2 separate regions of the Homo sapiens genome follow, and region 1 is linked to region 2. Evidence: promoter capture Hi-C in human tissues and cell types (Jung and others, 2019). All regions are on one chromosome and are shown on one strand. Each heading gives the region's core, a stretch centred on a gene start or on the middle of the fragment in contact. The rest is flanking DNA. Distances are from core to core; before and after follow the strand shown.

What was found. Contacts are between HindIII fragments. The study calls those that stand out against the background at their distance.
Region 1: a fragment that was not itself captured here is called in contact with the fragment with the promoter of TRIM55 in region 2 in 1 of the 25 tissues and cell types used here (mesenchymal stem cells).

What each region holds. Positions count from the first base shown.
Region 1 is chr8:67,145,106-67,152,106 of GRCh38, forward strand. CSPP1 (centrosome and spindle pole associated protein 1) reads left to right here. Exons shown (of 31, transcript NM_001382391.1): 18 at 4,678-4,830. Among named protein-coding and RNA genes, the nearest start is that of CSPP1, 84 kb to the left of the region's middle. The HindIII fragment of the contact is 6,758 bases long and covers 738-7,001 here.
Region 2 is chr8:66,123,126-66,129,729 of GRCh38, forward strand. TRIM55 (tripartite motif containing 55) reads left to right here and starts at 4,004. Exons shown (of 10, transcript NM_184085.2): 1 at 4,004-4,311; 2 at 5,179-5,351. The coding sequence starts at 4,144. RefSeq lists enhancers at 393-1,592, 704-1,269, 797-856, 1,197-1,446, 1,270-1,834 and a silencer at 3,550-3,822. The HindIII fragment of the contact is 11,068 bases long and covers 1-5,606 here.

The sequences.
Region 1 (7,001 bases), core at 2,867-5,366, 1.0 Mb after region 2:
CTTCTTTTTGGGAAAGTTTTAAACTATGACTTCACTTTATTTAATAGATAAAGAGACATTCAGTTTATTTCTTATGTGAGCTTTGGTTATTTGAATCATTCAAGGAAATTATTCATTTTATTTATTTATTTATTGGCATAATGTTGTTCATAATATTTCTTTTTTATTCTAATGTTTGTAGGATCTGTGGTGATGGCTTCTCATTCATTCCTGATATTTGTAATTTGTATATTTTCTTAATCTGTCTGGCTGGATGTTTATCAACTTTATGGATCTTTTCATAGAATCAGCTTTAGTTTTCATTGATTTTTTTTCTCTGCTTTTCTTCTTGTTTCAGTGATTTTGCTCTTATCTTTACTATTTGCTTCCTTTAGTTTGCTTTGTGCTTACTTTTCTCCCTTTTCTAATTTCTTTCTTTTTTTTTTGTTTTTGTTTTGAGACAGAGTCTCTCTGTGTCGCCCAGGTTGGAGTGCAGTGGCACAATCTCGGCTCACTGCAACCTCCGCCTCCCGGGTTCAAGTGATTCTCCTGCCTCAGCCTTCCAAGTATCTGGGACTGACTACAGGCACACACCACCACACCTGGCTAATTTTTGTATTTTTAGTAGAGACGGGGTTTCACCATACTGGCCAGGCTGGTCTCGAACTCCTGAGGTGATCTGCCCACCTCAGCCTCCGAAAGTGCTGGGATTACAGGCATGAGCCACCGTGCCCAGCCCCCTTTTCTAATTTTTTAATGTCGATGCTTAGACTATGATTTGAGACCTTACTTATTTTCTGTGCATTTAAGTGTGCTACACATTTCCCTCTGAGTACTGTTTTAGCTGTACATCACAAATTTTTATGTGTTGTTTTAATTTTCATTCAGTTTTCTGATTTTCATTGTGACTTTTCTTTGACCCCCATTAGTTATTTGGAAGTGGACTTAAAAATTTTCCAAGTATCAGGGGATTTTCCTGAGAGCTTTCTTTTATTCAATTCTAGTTTGTATTCTGTTTTGTAAGAGAATATACTTTTCTTTTTTTTTTTTTTTTTTGAGACAAGGTCTCACTCTGTCACCCAGGCTGTAATGCAATGGCACGGTCATGCCTCACTGCAGTCTCAACCTCCCTGGCTAAAGTGATCTTCCCGCCTCAGCTCCCCCAAGTAGCAAGGACTACAGACACATGCTACCATGCCCAGCTAATTACAAAATTTTTTTTAGAGACAGGGTCTCACTTTTTTGCCCAGCTGGTCTCAAACTCCTGGCCTCAAATGATCCTCCCACCTCAGCCTCCCGAAGTGTTGAGATTACAGGCATGAGCCACTGCGCCCAGCTGGAGAGAATATACTTTTAATGACTTCAGTGTTTTTAAGTTTGTGAGATTTGTTTTATGAGCCATCAGTTAGAATTTTACTCTATAAGTAAGTGTATATATTTTAAATTAGGTTAATTTTGATATATGTATTGTTAGTAGTGCTAGGGTTGGGAATTTTGCTTAGCTCTCTGAATTAGGTCATTATAAAAGAGTTTCTGTGTCAGCCATGAATTGCTGAATAATCCTGGGTTTATAGTAACATTTAACATATCTCAGCCCTTCACAAAATATATTTTGATATGTATTTTCCACCAAAGTATAAAGAGTAGCAGCTAACTTGTGAAGTTAATTAAAATTAATTTTTTTATAATGAGCTAATTCACTCAGTGAGGAGCACGTAAGTGCTCCTAATTTTATATTGAATGTTATGATGATTTACATTTAAAATAAAGTCCTATCTTTGCAGTTGACAAATTACACTCTTGACCAAAGTGCCTTTTTTAATTTTCGTTTTTTAGCTGATTTCAAATCATTTATTTTACCATCTCACAGAAAGACAGAAAAGGAGTGGCCAGTTGCCAAATCATTTTTCCCAATAAAAAGCAATATGGATTTGGTTTGCTTGCTAAATCTGATAGTCTTAAATCTTAATAATTATGTACTCTGATGAAATTAATTTTCTCTTAATATAAATATGTTGAATATTATTCCAGTTGAGAAGTCCATATATAATCAACAATAAATTATAATGTGTTATCGAAGTTTGCTTACATATAGGGTATCTCCTAATGTATGGTTTGTGCAGGTGACTATCAAACTAAGATTGCATTCCCTAAGCACTCACTAGTTTGGCAACACAGCTGTAGATTATTTCAAGAATATCTATCTGCCTTGCCAGTCCTTGGCACTTGGGAATTTTCTTGCAGTCACCTTTTTCTGTGGTTTCACCCAGTCCCTTCTCTTTGCATTTTTTCTATTTATTTCTTCTTTCTACCTCTGAACATGCTTAGGTCACTTGTATTAAAACACAGACAAATGCTTCCTTTACCATATAAAACACATTCAAAAAGTAGTCCATGCTTGTTGCTGTCACTTCTTACCACCCTCTTATTGGCTATTTTTCCATAGTATAACATCTAGCTTGTACCCCCGCGCCCCACCACCCCATGCCACATTGTCAACAAAAAGCCTGATGACCTAATTTCAATTTAATGATTTTTACTCATCTTTTATCTTCTTTGAACTGGCTTGACAGTTCCTTTTTTTCTCTAAGTCCTTTGTATCCTCCGAGATGCTGTCCAGACTTCAGCTAATATTTTTTGGATGTGCATTATGAACTAGAGTTAGACTCTGCTAGGTTTGTGAGCATGATCTTTCTTCTAAGGACTGTCATCTGACCTTGTGTGTTTCTCATCCCTTCATCCATTCTCTTCCATGTCATCTCTTTTACTCCTGTGTTACTCTTTAGGTCTTCCCTACAGATTGATCTTTAAATCTTTTTCTTTGCCCTCAACCATTTTTATTTTTATTTTTTTTGAGACAGTCTCACTCTGTCACCCAGCCTGAAGTGCAGTGGTGTAATTTTGACTCACTGCAACCTGCACCCCCCCGGCTTAAGTGATCCTCCCACCTCAGCCCCCCAAGTAGCTGGGACTACAGGTACATGCCATCATGCCCAGCTAATTTTTGTATTTTCAGTAGAAATGGGATTTCACCATGTTGCCCAGGATGGTCTTAAACTCCTGAGCTCAAGTAATCCACCCTCTTTGGCCTCCCAAAGTGCTGGGATTATAGGTGTGAGCCACCACGCCCGGCCAGACTAATATATTAATCCCACTTCTGTAACAACCACAACTGCCTCCATTACCTTCTACAGAACAAAATTGAGAGCCATTGACATGTGTTTTAGGATATTGAAGAATAGGTATCCATTCTATGGTTTCCAGTCTTATTTGCCATTGCTCTATTACATGTGCTTTATGCTCTAGTCTAGCTGGACTACTTTAATGTTGCCAGAACACTCATCATGCTTTACCCACTTGGAGTGCTTTCTCACATTGTTCTATTTCTCTATTATGCTTTCCTACTTATCTTCATCTGTGAAGCTCCTATACATTTTCCAAGTCCAAGCTGCCCTAAATATTGTAACAGAATGTGAACCTTCCTGATTCTGAACTCCCATTCTCTTTTGTAGCATTTATGTATTACTTGCCATGTTCTATCTGGAATTCTAATTGTGATTCATGTTCAAAATACATTCTTGAACATAACAGGCTTCCTGATAAATACTTCTTATATCCAGGTTTAAGTTCACTTTCAGTGCTGCCATACTGTTGCAGTTTTTTGGTTTGTTTGTTTTATGGAAAACAGGTACTTTTTATTTTATTAAAGCTTTAAGTTCTGTAATCATTCAGTTCTGTTTTTGAGATTGGTTGTTTGACCCAATTCTAGGTGCTCAGATTTTTGCTGTGTGTATTAGATATCTATTCTATGTAATGAATTAACCCAAAACTTGGTGTTTTAGCATGATAAACAGTTATTATCTTGCGGTTCTGAGGGTTAGAAATTTGTGAGTGGTTTAGTTGGGTGGTTCTGTCTCAGGCTCCCTCATAATGTTGGAGTCCAAGATGTTGACCATGGCAGTAGTCATCTGAGGCTTGATGGGGACTGTAAGATTCATTTTCAATATGGCTCCCTCACATGGCTCAGGAGGCCTTAGTTCCTTGTCATATGGGCCTCTCCATAGGGCTCCCTTAGTGTCCTTATGGTATGGCAGTTGGCTTTCTTCAGAGTGAATGATCCATAGATAAGCAAGGTGGAAATAATTTCTTTTATGAGGTAGCCTCAGAAGTCATATACCATTATTTCTGCAATATGCTAGTCATAAGAAGTGAGTTATTAACTCTGGACACCACTGAAGGGGAATGGAATTTAGCTTTACCCTTTGAGGGAGGATTGCCAAGTAATTTGTGAATATATTTTAAAACTCCACTCCACATAATTATGTGTTATTAGGAGACCGATGACAGGTAAATTACACTATGAGTTGTTTTAAATTGTTGCTATATTTTTTCTATATTAAAGAAATTCTAAGTTCTGAAGTAACATAGATACTGTTAATATGGTTTTTATGTTTTGTTAAAGATTTATGTGTCCTTAATTTATCTACTAATTGAGATTATTTTTAAGGATTATTTTTTGAAAATCTTAAAAGTTTTGATAATTTTGTTTCTCTTTTCAGGGCACCAACATATCATTGAATTATTCCCAACTTTGTCCTATTGTTTTTCTTTCTGACTTCCTATTTTAAGAAAATATATTTTGCATGCCAATTACAGAAATGTGTTTATTGAAATAAATGGCTTATTTTTTCCTCTCAGCTGATTTGAATAGGATGCACAGACAAAATATAGATGCCTACCATAACCCAGATGCAAGAACATATGAAGATAAAAGGGCTGTTGTATCTCTAGACCCAAATTTAGCCACTTCAAATGCTGAGAACCTAGAAGATGCTGCAAATAAAAGCTCAGGTTTTTAATCACTTTTTTTTTTTTTTTTTTTTTTTTACATTTCTGAAATTGTTCAGTAACATTTCTGTTCTGTGACTAAGTTCTTATTGGGATCTTGAGAATTTGGCTATCCTGATACAGGAAACATAACACACTATTCATAAAGTGCCTTTTCTTCATAGTTACTTTGAAAAAAGGTGAATAGGGAAAGGTTACTTCTTCCTACTGTGTTTCTTCTCAGCTTTGTAACTTGCTGTGTATCCTTTAGCTGCTGCTAACATTTTTATTTTGCTAGTGGGGGACATTTCTTAATATCAAACACTCTTTTTACACACATACACAATTTGCATCTTATATCCATAGCTGTTTGAATTAGTGAAACAGTATCATTGTGATATGATAAATTGTACAGGGAAATTCATTTTTTACTTGTTTTAGTAATCATTTACCCTCCCTTGTAAAACAACAGTGTACAAAGAAATGAAGCAATGTTGTTTTTTTTTTTGTGAGATGGAGTCTCACTTTGTTATCCCAGGCTGGAGTGCAGTGGCATAATCTCAGCTCACTGCAACCTCCACCTCCTGGGTTCAAGCAGTTCTCTACCTCAGCCTCCCAAGTAGCTGGAATCACAGGTACCCACCACCACACCTGGCTAATTTTTGTATTTTTAGTAGGTATGGGGTTTCACCATTTAGCCAGGCTGGTCTCGAACTTCTGACCTTGTGATCCATCCGCCTCCACCTCCCAAAGTGCCGGGATTACAGGCGTGAGCCATCGCCTGGTTACATGCCTCTTAACTACTTATCTTTGATTTACTATTAATATCCTTTAATCAATTCTGAAAGATGAAAATTATTCAATTATCTTTTTTTGACATACCAGGAAAAGTTGTCAGGTATGTTAAATTGTGTTATATATTTAAAAATAAAATTTAATACAGCACCTCACACTATATTTTGATGCCTATAAAACTGGCCATTTATTCATTACAAAATTCTACTTTGTGCTTTCACAGAAGTTTTGATTTTAGATTAGAAAAGAACTTTTCATTAGGAAGTTCTAAAATATTTGTGACTGATCATGTAGTCTTTTTTGTTTTTAACCCTTATTTTTGGCTAAACAGATAAGTGAAGTGGGGAGCTGTGATTAGAGTCATAGCCCTGCATCTTTCAAGGCTTTGATGGTAGCACACTTATCTGTAGCCTTTTTGAACAGTTTAAGAGATGGATTATTTACCGTTTTCATGGGCAGCTTGTACCAGTGTTTTCTAATTATGAGAAAATGCTTTCTTTGTTCTACAATATATTTTATCGGATCCAGTTTTGATTTTTAGAGCACTAAAATTGGAACCTTTGATTTTGACAATATTATTGATTTGGCTCTTTTAATTTGTAATAGTGTGTGGTAAGAACATCACAACACCTTTTCATATTATTGCTGCTAAGAGAATTTTGACTTATTTCTGATATTTTTCTCATTTGCTGCTGCTTCTAGTAGTCTGTATTGAGATCTCATTGCCATACAGAGTCTTTCTCTACCCTTTTCTTCCATACCTGGTATTGTTTGTAGTTCTGGCTCAGCCTAGAACTTTCGCTATCTTAGTAATAACACTTTTTAGCCATCTAGCTTTGCACACCAAGCAAAAACACCAGAAAATCAACAGTTCCCATGATCCCTTCCCAAAAGCATAAGCCTGATGATTAAACATGCACAGCAAAATTTGTTGCCTATAGCCTTTCTGTACCACTGCCAGGTTTTTATGCTGATATTGTTGCCAAGATGTTCTGTTTTAAGAATTGAGTAAAAAAAAAACCATAAAATGTTTAAAACTTCCTTTTTTTTGTGAATTGAAATTCCCAAATTAGACTTTTCTTCCCTAAGAATGAATTAATTGGCTGGGTGCAGTGGCTCACGCCTGTAATCCCAGCACTTTGGGAGGCTGAGGCAGGCGGATCATGAGGCCAGGAGATCGAGACCATCCTGGCCTACATGGTGAAACCCCGTCTCTACTAAAAATACAAAAATTAGCTGGGCGTGGTGGCATGTGCCTGTAGTCCCAGCTACTTGGGAGGCTGAGGCAGGAGAATTGCTTGAACCCGGGAATAGGAGGTTGCAGTGAGCTGAGATCACGCCACTGCACTCCAGCCTGGTGACAGAGTGAGACTCCATCTCAAAAAAAAAAAAAAAAAAAA
Region 2 (6,604 bases), core at 2,754-5,253:
ATATCTTACTATAAATTCCAGGTCCTTAGATAATATCTTAACTCTTTTAACCAACTGCCAATCAGAAAATCTTCAAATCTACCTATGACCTGGAAGCCCCCACTTTGAGCTGTCCCATCTTTCAGACCAAATTAATGTATATCCCCACATATATTGATTGATGTCTTATGTCTCCCTGAAACTTATAAAACTACACTGTAGCCTGACCACCTTGGGCACCTGTTCTCGGGACCTCCTGGGGCTGTCACAGGTCATGGTCCCCATATTTGGCTCAGAGTAAATCTTTTCAAATATTTTACAGAGTTTTACTCTTTTTCATTGACATTCATCAACTGGGCTCTTACTCCTGTGGGATTCATGCTGTTTTCCTGTGTAGCCTCCAGGGACAGTTCTAAGAAAAAGTAAAAGGCAGGGAGCAAGAAAGAACAGAGAGAAAAAAAAAGAGAGAGAAAGGAAGATAGAGATCAGCTCTGTAATCCCAGAGTTTTGGGAGGCCAAGGCAGGAGGATGGCTTGAAATCAGGAGTTCAAGACCAGCCTGGGCAACATAGCAAGACCCTTGTCTCTGCAAAAAATTTAAAAAATTAGCTGGGCATAGTGGTACACGCCTGTAGTACCAGCTACTCAGGAGGCTGAGGTGGGGGGATTGCTTGAGCCCAGGAATTTGAGGTTTCAGTGAGCTATGATTGCGCCACTGCACTCCAGTTTGGGCAACAGAGTGACCCTCTGTCTCTTAAAAGAAAATTCTGTTTCAGAGGTTTTTGTTTTTTTCTACAAATACTGCTAAATTAGGTTATGAACCCCACTCACTTATAGAGGGCAGAACTGAAATCCTCCTAGGTGAAGTCACTTTCCAAGACCACAAAGGGAGGTAGATGCAGAAGCTGGGAGAAAGCCTGACTGTCTCTGACTCACTCTGCAGCCTCTCACTACATCGTCGGTTACTCAGGCTCAGGCATCTGAGTCATCTGTGTGGATTCTACTTTCATAGCAGCCCCAGGGATCATTTCCTCCTTTCCTTCCCCACTGCCATGACCTGTGCCAGGGCTTCGCGACCTCTCACCTGGACTATTGGCAACAGCCTCTGATCTGGTTTTTAGCCAGCCACCTTCATGCTAATCTAACCCAATCATCGCTGAAAGATCAATCTAACCAACCACTGCTCTCACGGAAGTGTCCAGTGAGAAACTTTTAACGACTTCCTGCTGCTTAACTTATTAAGTGTTAAAAACTCTTTAGCACAGTATCCATGGCCAGCCAATGCTTGAGCGCGTGCCTGCACTCCAGCTCAAGCCACCGTGGCTCTGAGATCCCCTGCATGCCTGTGCATGCCCATGTTGCTGCTTCTGTGCCTTCTCTTGGAAAGCCCCAGCCATGCCCCACCTAACTACACGTCCATCCCTCTGAGATCCTCGGTGCAGCAGTTCAAACACTACCCCCACCCATGAAGCCCTTCTGATTCCTCTGACCCTGAAATGCTGTAGCTGTTGTGAAAGGAAAATAAATATTGGTATCCCAAAATCATTAAGCCAAAGGGAAAAGTCAAGCTGGGAACTGCGTCAGGCAAACCTGCCTCCCACGTTATTCCTAAATAAGATAGCTACAAAGATTTAAACGCTACATACCTCCCTTACAATTTGCACACTGGGAAATTCCTTATAGGCCCCAATATCTTTACCCTAAAACAGTTTTGTTGAATTTTACCCTGACAGTGTAAATTGACAGCTTATCTTCACAGGCATGGTACGAAGGACAGAACTCTAAGTCATCTCTCTGCTCACCTGAGACAAATGCATATCTGCTTTCTTCCTCTAATGTAAAAATGCAGACTCACTGAGCTAAAGGAAGACATAAATGACTATTATTCCTCTACCCACCGCCCAGCCCCAACATGTAAATTATGTATTTGGTGAAAGGCTGATCAAAGACTCAGAAGAATGCAACTGTTTGCCTCTTATCTACCCACAACTGAAATTTTTTTTCTCTTTCCCCAATATCCATTCTTTTCCCTTTAAATATTAAAGCCTTCGAAATCTTCTTTGGAGAAAGATGCAGGCCTGCCTCCTGGCACGCGCCCTTAACCTTGACAAAACAAACTTTCTCGATTGAGACCTGTCTCAGGTACTTTTTGGCTTGTACTCTTTATCACATTTTATTTTGTACTATGTTCTGTGTGTGCATGTCTCATCTCCACTCTTATACTGAGCTCCTTGAGGCCAATGACCTATGTCTTGTTCATCTTTCAATACCCAGAGCCTCACACAATGGAGACACACTACACATATCCAATGAATGTATTTTGAAGGAATGAATTCCTTCTAAAAGAAAAGACTCTGCTGCAATGTGCATGATTAGTCTAAGTGCTTTTACTTAGATAGCAAGGTCTTTTGCAGTAGAAACTTAATCTTTCCTAGAAAATATCCCACATATTGTACTCAGACCTCCCCTCCATAGCCCATGAATTGATAAACACAATTAACTGCCTAGGCTGGGTGAACCAAAGTAACTCAGTAAAAAAACTTTACCAGTTCCCGTCCTCCCTGTAGTTGCTAAATAAATATTGAAAGGACTAAGATAATTCTCTAAAGATCCCTGATATGCTTATGAATATATATAACTTATTATTAGTTAATAGAGCTTACTAGATTCTCAATAAGCTCTCCGTGCACACAGCACTAAGACCACACATAACTGACCTACACTTCACTGGTAATTTAATTCACACCAGGGATATGTTAACAAAATGTGTTTATTGCCCAAGGTTTTTAAAATGAAGGAGAAAGAAAGCCGAAATTTATCACATATAAACAGACTTGGATTTCTTTTTTATTTTTGATCTGATTTAAACATTTTTAAATACAATATGTATTGGTTAAACTGTTGCTTCACAAAATCCTGATGAATGTCAGAATCGATGTTTATGACTCAAGAGCAGACCAAGAATATCAGAAATGACCAGAGAAACTATGGTTTAACAAGTCACCTTGGAGGAAGGGGAAATGCAAGGGAGAATAGGTATTTTGGAGGCAGATGAAATGCAGATATGGAAGTAGGACTCCATTTATACTTCAGTTGTCAATGGCACTGGTAACTGTCCCCCAAGGGATGACAAAATAAAATAATAGATCTGCCACCTCCAGGTGCCTGCCAGTTACTACCTCATTACAGATTATTGTTGCAAACTATTATATAATTTAAGAATTTAAATAATCAGTAAAAGACTATCAAATTTTCTTTGTGTTTTTGGGTGTATGTAGGAGGTGGGGCAGTATAGGATGAAAGAGGGCCAAGGAAGAGGAAAGCAATGTGGAAGAGCAAACAGCATACTAGAGTTGTTTTATAATGTAACTTTTTTCTCAAATAATTAGATCATCCACTGGTTTTGAATTTTTATTTATGCATGTATTTATTTATTTATTAGGTGGATACCTTTATGGTGAAGGGATTTGAATTTAGCTTTTAAATTGGAATTTTTCAAAGACCACAACCCCAGCTGACAAAGATGAAATACTTAACATTAAGAAAGTCTTTTTGATGATTGCCTTTGTGAAGCCAGGATAACAATTTTCGAGACATGTTTTGTTCATTTTCACCTAAGAAGGTGCTATTAGGCTACTTTCCGTGACTCAATTCCTACACTCTCAAGACAGGGCTGGCATTAGTTACACAGACTCTGTGCTGCGTTCTGCCCCTTCCTGGAGAAGCCATCGCCAAGTTCTCAGTGAGTGCTCACAGAGGGCATGGTTCAGTGGCTAGGCATGCACATTTGCATTTGTTGTTGACAACTGTCAGCTTCGACCTCCTTCTCCTCACAACCCCGTCTAAATGGGGTTTGTAATCCTCCTTCCCACCCACTCTCTTCACTCCCTGGGGCAAGAATGTTGACTCCTGCTCTCCGTCACCTGTCAGGATCCATCCTCCTGTCACTGGCTTATATGGACACGTCAGCCCACCGTCACGTGACCGCAGGCTGCTAAAAACAGCTCCAGCACCCACTCCAAACCAGGGCCTGAAACAATGTCCTCCACCGAGAGAAACGTAAAGGACACTTGATCACACAATCCCTGGAATAATATCCAGGAAACACTTGCTGGAGCCACTCGCAGCACCCTTCCCTGGCAGCACACTTGGGGACAGCGAGGAGATGAGCGCATCTCTGAATTACAAATCTTTTTCCAAAGAGCAGCAGACCATGGATAACTTAGAGAAGCAACTCATCTGTCCCATCTGCTTAGAGATGTTCACGAAACCTGTGGTGATTCTCCCTTGTCAGCACAACCTGTGTAGGAAATGTGCCAGTGATATTTTCCAGGTAGGTTTGTTTGGAATTTGGTTGAGGGGAGGGGGTGGAAAAGATTCCCTCCTCTTGGAATCAAGTGCTTAACATTGAGGTGAAATCCTTTAAAAAACTTTATAAGGTTGCCGGGCGCTTTGGCTCACGCCTGTAGTCCCAGCACTTTGGGAGGCTGAGGCCAGTGGATCACCTGAGGTCAGGCCTTCGAGACCAGGCTGGCCAACATGGCAAAACCCCATCTCCACTAAAAATACAAAAAAAAAAAAATTAGCTGGGCATGGTGGCGGGCACCTATAATCTCAGGTACTTGGGAGGCTGAGGCAGGAGAATTGCTTGAACCCAGGAGGCGGACATTGCAGCGAGCGGAGATCGTGCCATTGCCCTCCGGCCTGGGCAACAGAGCAAGACTCTGTCTCAAAAAAAGAAAAACAAACAAACAAAAAAACTTTATAAAGTTGCATTTACTTTCAAGAAAAACACGTTTCTTTTAATGATTTGGTTTGTGTCCTCTTTACTCCCAAATCTAGTTTTATTTTAATACTAAGAATCATATTTTTTTTTAAGTCAAACCATTTAATGTGTTTCAAAACTATAAATGAGTAACTGCTGAAGACATGAGTGTGGAGTTTCTGGCTGGAACTTTTGGTTCTGAAAGTGGTGGACGGAAAAGCACCTTACGTGGACAATGGTATATTCGCAGATGACTGTGGATAAGGTCTGACCCTGTGTTTCAGGACCACTTGCTGAGAAAGCCCTGAGGGATGATCTTATGGCAAGCTTAAAGTAGAAGTTCATGTTGTTTGTAGTAGCAGAGAGTGAAAATAAGTCTCAGAGAAGCTGCTTGTGGCATTACCCAATTCCTTTTTTCTTACTTGGCAAGAACAGGCCTCTAACCCGTATTTGCCCACAAGAGGAGGTACCACCATGGCATCAGGGGGCCGATTCCGCTGCCCATCCTGTAGACATGAAGTGGTTTTGGATAGACATGGGGTATATGGACTTCAGAGGAACCTGCTGGTGGAAAATATCATTGACATCTACAAGCAGGAGTCCACCAGGTAACACTCTTCCACTCTTCCATGTGTCAAGCCCATCTGAAACTTGTTTTTGTTTGTTTGTTTTAATGGGTTGCTACGCTGAATGCTTGTTTATCAATCACAGACTGTTTTATGGAAAAATGGTTTTCCAAGTCAGTCCTTCCCAGTGAGACTGAGAGTTGCTCACAGCAGGAGAGAGGGGAGTTGGTGCCCATGCTTTTGTATCAATTTAAGAATGAAGTGACTCATTAACACCAATCCATTCCAGATGGTGATGCTGAAAGAGACATACTGCTGTCCCCCTCCACCTTAAAGCCTGGTATTACATCCATTTTACACATTTTGCACTTCACAGGCACTTTGTAGCTCCAGATCCCTACAAAGCAAAGAAAAAAAAATCTAGTAAATACTTAATAGAAAATTAATAGAAATGGCATCTTCCGAAGTAGCCCAGTTCCTAGTTCAGACAGTCTTGCCTTAAAATTGTTTGGATGATAATAAAAACAAAATCCTCTAACATAGGTTGTCACTGTATTTACTCTAAGGGAAGTCACAAAGCAAGGCAAAACCCTGGCCTTTAGGGACTTAAACTTCAGAGCCATGAGGAAAAAAAAGGGTGAAATTCAGGTTATGTTTCCCTATTCCTTATACTGTATTTACTGCATAGTCAGCATTCACTTGTTGATTGTGAATAACATCGTGATAGCATTATATATCTATCCATTCATTTTTAAAAAATAACAAAAAAGGCTTCTTATTCACCAAACCACATTGGCTATAGAATTCCTTTCCTAGACACAATGCTGCGGGAAGCTTATTCCTAGAAGGCACGGTGTGAAGAGCCCCTTTTCAATTGTGTGCAGGTCAGTCCAGTCCACAAAGCTTGATAGCAATATTGAGACCATCTAGAAATGGCCTCATTGTGATTCCATTAGGGGACACGTATTTATGGAACATCTGCAGAGCTCTAAGAGGCTTGTGCTCTTGGAAGGAAAGCTGTTCTATAAATCTAACATAATTATTATAATTATTATAGCTATTAATTTCCGCTAAAGATCCAAAACTAAATTAGACAGTACCAGGATCTAGATGGGTTTGGGGAAGAATTGCTGATGACATATTGCAGAGATTGCAGCTGGCTGTTTCCCTTGCTTCCAAAGTCTCTTGACAAGAACAAAAGTACTATTGCTGTTGCTGTTACTTTACAGATTTGATCTCATTGTATTTCACTACTTTAAAATACAAATACACACTTGTCTCTTAAAAACTTAACC